Regions from separate parts of the Homo sapiens genome. Here regions 1 and 3 are each linked to region 2. Evidence: promoter capture Hi-C in 16 types of primary human blood cells and fetal thymus (Javierre and others, 2016). All regions are on one chromosome and are shown on one strand. Each heading gives the region's core, a stretch centred on a gene start or on the middle of the fragment in contact. The rest is flanking DNA. Distances are from core to core; before and after follow the strand shown. Region 1 overlaps HNRNPC (heterogeneous nuclear ribonucleoprotein C). Region 2 holds the start of RAB2B (RAB2B, member RAS oncogene family). Region 3 has its middle 10 kb from the start of LINC00641.

Region 1 (3,385 bases), core at 302-2,801, 260 kb before region 2:
TCATGTGGCACAAAAATATTGTAACTGCATTAGCTTCCCTATCTCAAAACACAAGAGATACCAAAATCACAAAATGAAATAATACATACACTTTCCAGACTTGGAAGATCCCCGCTGTCCACTCTTAGAATTGAAGCCACTTTTGCCCCTTCGTGAAGTGTTTCCTGATACACGCTGACGTTTCGAGGGCACTACAGCCCGAGCAATAGGAGGAGGAGGAGGTACACGTGCTGGGTAACTGTACATCCTATTGGATAAGAGGAAAATGGAATTCATTCAAACCTAACATTAACTCAGCACAATTCAACAGACCTTATGATAAATAGTAAGTGAATATTGTCTCTAGTCGTTTCCTTTTATTAAATTTCATTAAGAAGGCCAGCAAAAACCTCCACAGTGGGGTTTAGAAATCTTATCCCATTATTTCTTTACCTAGGCACATAAAATAGTTGTAATACTGTAGCAACTTTTCCTCAGGAAAATAAAACATATATCAAATTATATGGTTGGCTGGCCTTTGGCACTGGATATAAATGATTCCTCTGTACTAGTGTCAGTATTAACAGGGCATTTATTATAATGAATAGCCTTTGGATCTTATTATTTTCAAATATACATTACAATAAACAATTCACATACGGTCAAATACTCTTTAAAATGTTCCAATTAAAAGGGTATATAAACAGTGGTATATGGCATTAGCGAAATCTCTGATTCTTTTCACCCACAGAAGCACACGAATTATTACAACTAGTGATATAAGGTTGAACCATATAAAATTTCAGATCTATAAAATCAGGGCAATTTCATGTAACTGAGGGAATCATAGCAAAATGTGTTGGCTGGGTATAAATACTACTGATAAAAAATACCTCATATAAAAACAGGTAGTATCATTTCTAACTAAATTTACGCTTAATTCCAACAGGGCAGAGACCACTGTCTATCTTGTTCACTACTCACCTATGTCTAAATTCACTGGCCAGTACACACTTAGCACTCAATAAACACTGGTTGCTCAACTAATTGCTGTTTCTATTAGAAATCTTAATTTCAAATGTCTTAAACTTAGTATCCCAGTGATTGATAAAGATACACCAAAGCAGTGGCTTGGTACACTTACATTTGTAAAGAGAAAATTCAAAACAGAACAAAATACTTCTTACATGGACATCAGTTCTAAACTTTCTACATTCCACATTGTCATTTCCATATAAGAACCTATGGCAACGTATGAAAAGGTCTTCAATTCTGCAAGCTTTTTAAAAATGCAACTAACTTAATGCAAAGGCCCAGGTACTCTATAAAAATACACCTACCAACTGTTCTAACTCCAAATATTTCTTAAAAAACAAATGTGATAGTCAAGAACTTTAAAAATATTATTAATCACCTTTGTCATGATTCTCCCTCTTATATATATACAATAGTGGCAAGTTATTCTGAGTTGTAATATCTCCAATCTTCCTGTAGTGAAAACATTTACAAGATCTCATTGCTAATTCTCTCCTCTGTTAACTTAAAAGTGTTTCCACACTATTTCAACAAAGCAATGTTTAATCTTGTCCCAGGAGTGGCTATGGACAGGAACATTTTCCTAAATTAAAAGAGCAAGGAAAGCTGAGATGGAAAGACAGGTTGAGCCCAGGAGGTGAGAGAACCATGACTGCACCACTGCACTCATGCGGAACAGAGCAACACTGTCTCAAAAAAAAAGAAAACAGAAAAAAGTTTGCATTTCCCCTAAGTATGGTTAATCTCTTAGTTTAATCCATTCATGGGAATTAATGCAAAGAAAAAGATACTGAGTAACTTTTTATTATCACTACTTTCCCATTTTGACATAAAGCTTTTGGTCTTTTTGACCAAAATCTTGCAAAGTATAATGATACAGAAACTATAAAATATCAGTGTTCAGAAACTCATATCCTTTGTGAGAGATGGTAACACTTGCACAAACACAAATTGCTTAACGACAATTTCTGGAGGTGAATCAAAATAAGTTATCCATATCCATGAGCATTAAACTGAGCTTAAGCCTCAGTCCAATGGAAATAAATATCTAATCTACCTCCTAAGCCACAAACCTTCACCGGCACCCGTATCTAAACCAATGAGCTAGCTAGCTAGTTCTGTACTATCACTGGAATTTCTTTTTAAAACCTACTATTTCGTCTGACCACAGCCAAAATAAAGCAAGTAATACAGTTTTGTTTTGAATCTATGTAACAGTCTCATGAACACAATTAGGAGTCAAATTCTCTACTTTTCTGAAGAAAAATATTTCAAAATATTTCAGCCAGTTAAGGCTTTTAGTTACACAGAATGCTGCTCAGGCAGAAATGGACTCTCATTCACATCTGAGGAAGTAGTCCTTGCCTCGAAAAATGTTGAGGACGGTAAGTGTGAAAATAGAAAAAAAACATACATAGTGTGACAACCTTTAAGTTAAAAGGGATATATATTAAGAAGCTCAGTATGACTACTTCAAGCACCAGCTAAAAATTAAGCGGAAATTCTCACTATGAGAAAGCTATACAATAGATGAGGCAACAATAGCTGATTACTTACTGATTAAGGCTAGGCTGTTTAAAATCTTTTACCAGGGGAACAAGGACTAAACCCTAGGAGAATTGTAACTGCACCCATAATCAAACTTGATGGTGTTGGTATAAAATCTAGTCAGATTAAGAAATTAAAACACTCTAGAGACATTAATCACCTGAACAGATTAAGACAAAATACACCAGCCAGGTGTGGAGGCTCATGCCTGTAATCCCAACATTTTGGGAGGCGGAGGCAGGTGGATCATGAGGTTACGAGTTGAGACCAGCCTGACCAACATGGGGAAACCCCGTGTATACTAAAAATACAAAAATTAGCCGGGCATGGTGGCACACGCCTGTAATTCCAGCTACTCAGGAGGGCTGAGGCAGAAGAATTGCTTGAATCTGGAAGGCAGAGGTTGCAGTGAGCTGAGATCATTCCACTGTACTCCAGCCTCAGTGACAGAGCAAGACTCCGTCTTAAAAAAAAAAAAAAGAAAGGAAGAAAGAAAGAAAAGGAAAAGAAAAAGAAAAAAAAAACAACAAAACACACCAGCTGGATGCAGTGGCACACCTGTAATCCCAGCTACGCAGGAGGCTGAGGCACGAGAGTTGCTTGAACCCAGGAAGGAAGTGGGGGTTGCAGACAGCCATTGCACTCCAGCCTGGGCGACAGAGTAAAAACTTTTGTCTCCTCCACCACCAAAAAAAAAAAAAAAAAAAAAGACAAAGAATGTCTACCCCAATTCCAAAGTAAAAGCATTACAAGACATGTACTAAGAAGAGGTTTTCAAAGGGAAGCTTCTTAAATGGAAATTCTGACCATAAGACATTAGCTG
Region 2 (3,176 bases), core at 460-2,959:
AATTTGGTTAGGTAACATTTAGTTTTGTAACTTTTCCAAAAAACTAAAAATTTTGGAAATATTTCCTGACACTTTCTCAGTCACTCTTTAGTCTCTACTTAAAACAATATTTATTTTTTTGCAATTCCAGATGTTTTTCTTTAAGAAAAGAGCCTAAGAAATAGGTTCTCAGAAACAATACTTTTTTTTTTTTTTTTTTGAGATGGAGTCTCGCTCCGTCACCCAGGCTGGAGTGCAGTGGTGCGATCTCAGCTCACTGCAGCCTCCACCTCCTGAGTTCAAGTGATTCTCCTGCCTCAGCCTCCCAAGTAAGTACCTTACAGGCACACGCCACAACGCCCACCTAATTTTTTTAACAATACATTTTACATTTCCAATAATTGCCAGAGGCACAATTAAGCATTGTTGCCTTGTTAAGCATTGTATCATTAGCCCCTATCGCAAAGTGAGAATTCGCTCAATATTCCCTTTAAAATACCTTTTAGTTGATACTGCCAAATCCTTTTCTAACCCCATCAATTATTTGACTCTAAATAAATCCGTTAGGAACAGTGGTAGCTTCAGGTTTCCATACAGGTGGGACTTGGAAGTAGCAATATGGTAAGAATGGGGATGTAGGGGTTTATTTAGAAACTGCATTTGCATGGCAAGAAAGCTAGTTTCATATATGTTGTTTATTTGGACTGGGGTTACGGAGATAACGAAGAGGGGGTAGTTAAAAGCCTCTTCAGGCCATGCCTTATCACAAACGTGTGGGAAAGGTTAATATTTTCCAGGATCGCCAGTGCGTTTGAGGAACTGTTAACACACTCTTTCATTTAAAAGGAAAGTTTTTAGTTTTATTTGCCTATTAATTCTAAGGCAGGGATGACTCCTCAATTTGCTTCTTCACCAATATAAAAAATGTCCATGTATTGGTGTTTACTTTTTAAAAGTAAGGCTGGTATTAATTTACCTCAAAGCACAGATGAGTTCATAAATAAGCAGTTATGCTTTCGTGGGATTTTCCATAAACATACAAATTGTATTTGAAAAAAAATTATATGACGAGTCTATACCTCACACTCTAAAAAGTTACCTTTCAATTATATACTCTCCCTTACACTACTCCCCACATATCAACGTTTCATTGGTCACTTCATTAACATAAGTTTGGACTAGTTTAAAGTAGTGAGGGGTAACTTTTTACTTCGAACACTGAAGGCTGCTAACTTTCCACTTTAGCAATTTAGCTAGTCAGGTTTTATCATCTGTTCTGGAACAAGTAGATGCACTTACCTATTGTGAGGTCGTGGACAGGCTGGAACCGCTTATCTGTAAACTGCAGGAGGAGACATGACTTCCCCACACCTGAAAGAGAAAGCACACTCCCGGAATCACGCAGCCCTGGAACACCTTCCAGAGTATGGACTTCCCGGACCAGAGAAGGGGGGCTCCCGAGCCCCGCCCCCGGCCGCCCCGAACCGCCCCGCCCGTCTCGAATCGCCCAGCCCACAAAGTGAGCCCCGCCCCCGCCACCCAATTTGGGAGCTTCGAATGCCCGCCCGAGCCTTGAAGGCGAACCACCTGAGGGTTACCTGTGTCTCCGATGATGATATACTTGAAGAGATAAGCATAAGTCATGGTGTCGCGTCCTCTGGGTTCCGGGTCCGCCCGACTTCTATAGCCACTTACCTCCGACCTCTCTAGCCACTCAATCTACCGATCTTCTTCTTCTCCCCCTTCCCCCCGCTCCCCCGCCCCTCCGGCTCCTCTAGCCCAGATCACGTCTCTATTGCACTCCCCGGAATCATCCTTAGGTCGGGAGTACCCTACGCCACCTCCAGGGACGCTTCTAGCACTTCTACATGCCCTTATCCCTCCAAACTCCAGGGGGCGATAGCCCAGCGCCTGACTCTCTGCAGCCCCACGGCGCTCCTTCCAATCAGCAGAGAGAACACACGTCCTTGCGGAAGTGACGGCAGTTCCGAGTCCAGTGGGGGCGGTGGGAGCGATGAGGGTCTGAGACGGTGGGAGCGGTTGTGTGAAGATGGAGGTAGGAACCTGATAGCTAAGAAGGCTGGCGAGAGAACGCGGCCGACCGGGTTGAAGCAGGGACGGGAAGCCGGGCGGAGAGGCGACTGACGGGAGAGGAGAGAGAGCGGGGTTTGGGGAGTGTTGTCAGAATGTCAGGGTCAAAAGCCATCGCTCCAAGCTGACTCCCTGCTCCCCCTAACTTATCCCCGCGACTTTCTTTTGGTTTCCAGTTTCCCGGAGGAAATGACAATTACCTGACGATCACAGGGCCTTCGCACCCCTTCCTGTCAGGGGCCGAGGTGAGCCAGAGCTGCCGACGCCGCGGGGGTAGGGCCTGAGGCAGCGGTGGGGTAGGGTAGTGGGGAGGAGAGCACGGACTCCGGGGACGGGGGCTGGGAACCAAGGGCCGCAATTGGTGTTTAGAGAAAAGTGGCGGTTGCTTCTAGAGCCTGTGGGGACTATCTGGGGAAGTCTTGGGAAGTTGCTGTCATCAGAAAGCAAGGTATTGGAAAGAGATAACCTGTTTAAAGAGAAAAGGGATTCTGGATTAGAAGACAGAGTGGAATTGTCTCCTTTCTCTGGGGAGAAATAGCTACAGTAATCTTAGGGGATCGCAGTGGAAAGAAAATGTTTCAGCAGCTGAAGAAATTGGGGTTGAGGGGAGGAGCTTATTGGTTTTCTTTTGTTTTGAGACAGAGTCTCGCTTTATCGCCCAGGTTGAAGTGCAGTGGTGCGATCTCGGCTCACTGCAACCTCTGTCTCCTGGGTTCAAGCGATTCTCCTGCCTCAGCCTCCCGAGTAGCTGGGATTACAGGCGTGCGCCACCACGCTCGGCTAATTTTTGTATATTTAGTAGAGATGGCAGTTTCACCATATTGGCCAGGCTGGTTTCGAACTCCTGACCTCAGGTGATCCACCCACCTCGGCCTCCCGGAGTGCTGGGATTACAGGCCTGAGCCATTGCGCCCGGCCTAAATTTCCTACTTTGATAAAAAATTTGTGGTTACCTTTACCTACATGGTGTCAGCTTGTTTTGCTAATGTCAGGAGGAAAGGAAATAGCTGCTAGAGAATATAAAAGAGTTGAGTAGGACATGTGTTTCAATTTGCCAGTGACTCAGACGTTGGGCACATTACTTCATCTTTGTATGTCACAGTTTC
Region 3 (3,660 bases), core at 441-2,940, 280 kb before region 2:
CCATGTTGCCCAGGCTGGTCTTGAACTCCTGGGCTCAAGCGATCTGCTCACCTCGGCTTCTCTAAGTGCTGGGATTACAAGTGTGAGCCACTGCATCTGGCCAAGACATTTTCAAATAAAGGAAAATTAAGAACTTTTGCCAGCCAATCTATCCTTTAAAATGGCCGAAGGAAGCTTTCGAAACAGATGGAAAATGATAAAAGAAGGAATCTTTAAATAGCAGTAATGAGAAAAGAACAATGGAAAGGGTAAAAACATGGTTAACAACAACAAAAAAATTATCTTCTTGGTTTTTAAAAAGATTACATTTGACGGCAGTATTACAGGTAGTCAGGCATGAGTGGCACAGGAGAGGACTGACTCTCCCTGCACCCATTAGAAATGTCTGGTGATGGTTCGGCAGTTACCACATTGCCTCTCTAAAAATGATAATGTGGCAGGGCCAGGGAGAGGCCATTTCCTGATGGTCCACACCTGTTAATTGAATGCAGGTTCCAGGGAGAAGCAACTTCCTGGTCATGGATGTTAAGAGACAAAAATGGTGAAGTATGATTTTCTGGGGACGCACCACCAGAAAAAGGAAGAAAGCCTCAGATTGGGCATGCATATAACTCCCTAAACACACTGAACAGGCTCGGTTCCAAAGGGTAAGGAAAGCACTGGGCATGCGGAAAGCCCACCCTATGGGAAGAATCCTGGGAAAGAGGCAAACTTACGAAAGTCCTAGGATCATGGTTAAACGGCATTTGACCTTCTCTATTAAACTTCATGTGCCTGCTTTTTTTTTTTATTCCAAGCGCACCTTCCTTTCTTTCCTATTCTAAGGCCTTTTTAAATAAACTTCCATTCCTGCTCTGGAACTTGCCATGGACCCATACAGATAGGCTGCTGGTACCTTGGGGTAACTCAGATCTCTGCCACTGCTAACAGTAGAAGCAAAAATCATAAAATTATTTAATGAGGTTCTCTAATAGGTAGAGGAAATATTTAATACAATTGTATTATGAATGGGGAGGGTAAGGTATATAAATAAGGTAAATTTTCTACATTTCACTTGACATGGTAAAACAATAGTAGTATACTGTAATCCATTTTGTATGTATAAGGCAACACCTAGAGCAACCACTCAAAACAACTATAAAAAGAGATACCCTCAAAAACACTGTAAAATACTACCCACAGAGTGAAAATGCAATCCACAAAATGGGAAAAAATATTTGCAAGTCATATATCTCATAAAAAATTGCTATCCAGACTATATAAATAACTGCTACAATTCAACAACATTAAAACAAACAACCTGATTTTGAAATGGGCAAAGAACTTGAATTAACAAACATTGCACCAAAGAAGATATACAAATGGTCAATAAGCACATGAAAAGATGCTCAACATCATTAATAATTAGGTAAATGCAAATCAAAGCCACATTGAGATACCACTTCACACTCATTAGGATGCTATTATAAAACAAACAGTGCCGGACATGGTGGCTCACGCCTCTAATCCTAGCACTTTGGGAGGCCGAGGTGGGCAGATGACCTGAGGTCAGGAGTTCAAGACCAACCTGGGCAATGTAGGGAGACCCCATCTCTTAAAAAGAAAGAGAAAAGAAAAAAAAAAAAAAAAAAGGCTGGGCACGGTGGCTCATGCCTGTAATCCCAGCACTTTGGGAGGCTGAGGTGGGTGGATCACCTGAGGTCAGGAGTTCGAGACCAGCCTGGCCAACATGGTGAAACCCCATCTCTACTAAAAATACAAAAATTTGCTGGGCATGGTGGCGGGTGCCTGTAATCCCAGCTACTTGGGAGGCTGAGGCAGGTGAATCGCTTGAGCCCAGGAATCGAAGATTGCAGTGAGCCGAGATCATGCCACTGTACTCCAGTAAAAAGAGTGGTAGAAGAAACAGTAAAACCAGTAAAAGGGTTCAGTAAGGTTGCGGGATACAAGATCAACATATAAAAATGAATTATATTTCTTTTCTTTTTTTTTTTGAGACAGGTTCTTGCTTTGTTGCTCAGGCTGAAGTGCAGTTGTATGATCTCAGCTCACTACAACTTCTGCAACCCAAACTCAAAGGAGACTTTCACCTCAGCCTCCCAAGTAGATGGAACTGCAGGCATGTGCCACCACATCTGGCTAATTTTTGTATTCTTTGTAGAGACGGAGTTTCACAATGTTGCTCAGGCTGGTCTCAATGAATTATATTTCTATAGACCAGTAATAAACATGGAGAAGATGAAATTAAAACACAATATCATTTGCAATCATTAAAAAAATACTTAAATACTTAGGTGTAAATCTCACAAAACCTGTACAGGATCTGTATGCTCAAAACTACAAACCAATGATAAAATAAATCAAAGATCAAAATAAATGGAAGGACATACCATGTTCATGGATTGGAGGACTAAGCATGGCAAACATGTTCAATTCTCCCAAATTAATATACAGATCTAACATATTTCCTATTATAATGAAACCATCATTGCGAAATTATAACTAAGACAGTGAAAGAGATCTGACCTAACCTCCATCTTGCTTCTAACCTCTAAGCTGCTCTTGTTCATTCCTGACAGTAGGCCAAACTAAGTTTGGGAGGAACTTAATGTACAGTCTATAGTTTGAAACAAACATAATAACAGCCCTTTCCCAAAACAAACCCCCTTCTTGCCTGAGGACTAGACTGCCTTTGTAGGACCAACAAATTAGCCAAAAGATCAGAAATTATGGTTTAGGATTCACGCAGCTAGAGGCTACAAGATTCTGACCCTTCCCAAGTTGATCCAGTGGATAACAACACTATTATAAAACCTAAGATAAGTACTTGAAATATTTTGCAAATCCTGTACTCAGTGAATCAACTGATACCACCCAGATCAATAAACTGGCTCATTTGGTTTTGTGGCCCCTACCCAGGAACTGACTCAGCACAAGAGGATGGATAGCTTTGACTCCCTATTATTTCATCTCTGGCCAATCAGAACTCCCTGTCTGAACTCAGACTCACTTTCTCCCTACCCACCAAATTATCCTTAAAAACTTCAATCCCCAAATTCTCAGGGAGACTGATGAGTAATAAAACTCCAGTGTGAATTACTCTTTCTCTATTGCAATTCCCATCTTGATAAATCGGCTCCGTCTAGGCAGCGGGCAAGATGAACCTGTGGGGCTGTTTACAACCTAGTCAATATTTTTAGAAATAGACAAGCTTATTCTAAAATTCATATGGAGGCCAGGCACGGTGGCTCACGCCTGTAATCACCACACTTTGGGAGGCCGACGCGGGTGGATCACGAAGTCAGGAGAGCGAGCATCCTGGCAAACACAGTGAAACCCCGTCTCTACTAAAAATACACACACACACACACAAAAAGCCGGGCGTGGTGGCGGGCACCTGTGGTCCCAGCTACTTGGGAGGCTGAGGCAGGAGAATGGTGTGAATCCAGGAGGCAGAGCTTGCAGTGAGCCGAGACTGTGCCACTGCACTCCAGCCTGGGCGATGGAGTGAGACTCCGCCTCAAAAAAAATAAAATAAAATAGGCCAGTTGTGGTGGCTCACGCCTGTAATCCCAGCACTTTGGGAGGCTGAGGTGGGTGGATCACCTGGGGTCAGGAGTTCAAGACCAGCCTGGCCAACATGGTGAAACCCAGTCTCTA

The links. Contacts are between HindIII fragments. The CHiCAGO score rates a contact against its expected background, and 5 or more counts as called.
Region 1: a fragment that was not itself captured here is called in contact with the fragment with the promoter of RAB2B in region 2 in 3 of 17 cell types (monocytes, naive B cells and naive CD4 T cells); the score reaches 5.5 in monocytes.
Region 3: a fragment that was not itself captured here is called in contact with the fragment with the promoter of RAB2B in region 2 in 1 of 17 cell types (naive B cells); the score reaches 5.1 in naive B cells.

The regions. Positions count from the first base shown.
Region 1 is chr14:21,212,871-21,216,255 of GRCh38, forward strand. HNRNPC (heterogeneous nuclear ribonucleoprotein C) reads right to left here. Exons shown (of 9, transcript NM_004500.4): 6 at 90-247. Among named protein-coding and RNA genes, the nearest start is that of LINC00641, 7.7 kb to the left of the region's middle. The HindIII fragment of the contact is 591 bases long and covers 1,257-1,847 here.
Region 2 is chr14:21,475,250-21,478,425 of GRCh38, forward strand. It overlaps RAB2B (RAB2B, member RAS oncogene family), which reads right to left and starts at 1,710. Exons shown (of 8, transcript NM_032846.4): 1 at 1,578-1,710; 2 at 1,279-1,350. The coding sequence starts at 1,623. It overlaps TOX4 (TOX high mobility group box family member 4), which reads left to right and starts at 1,946. Exons shown (of 9, transcript NM_014828.4): 1 at 1,946-2,035; 2 at 2,247-2,315. The coding sequence starts at 2,030. RefSeq lists enhancers at 1,127-1,246, 1,827-1,896. The HindIII fragment of the contact is 9,465 bases long and covers 1-3,176 here.
Region 3 is chr14:21,195,073-21,198,732 of GRCh38, forward strand. No RefSeq gene overlaps it. Among named protein-coding and RNA genes, the nearest start is that of LINC00641, 10 kb to the right of the region's middle. The HindIII fragment of the contact is 3,037 bases long and covers 173-3,209 here.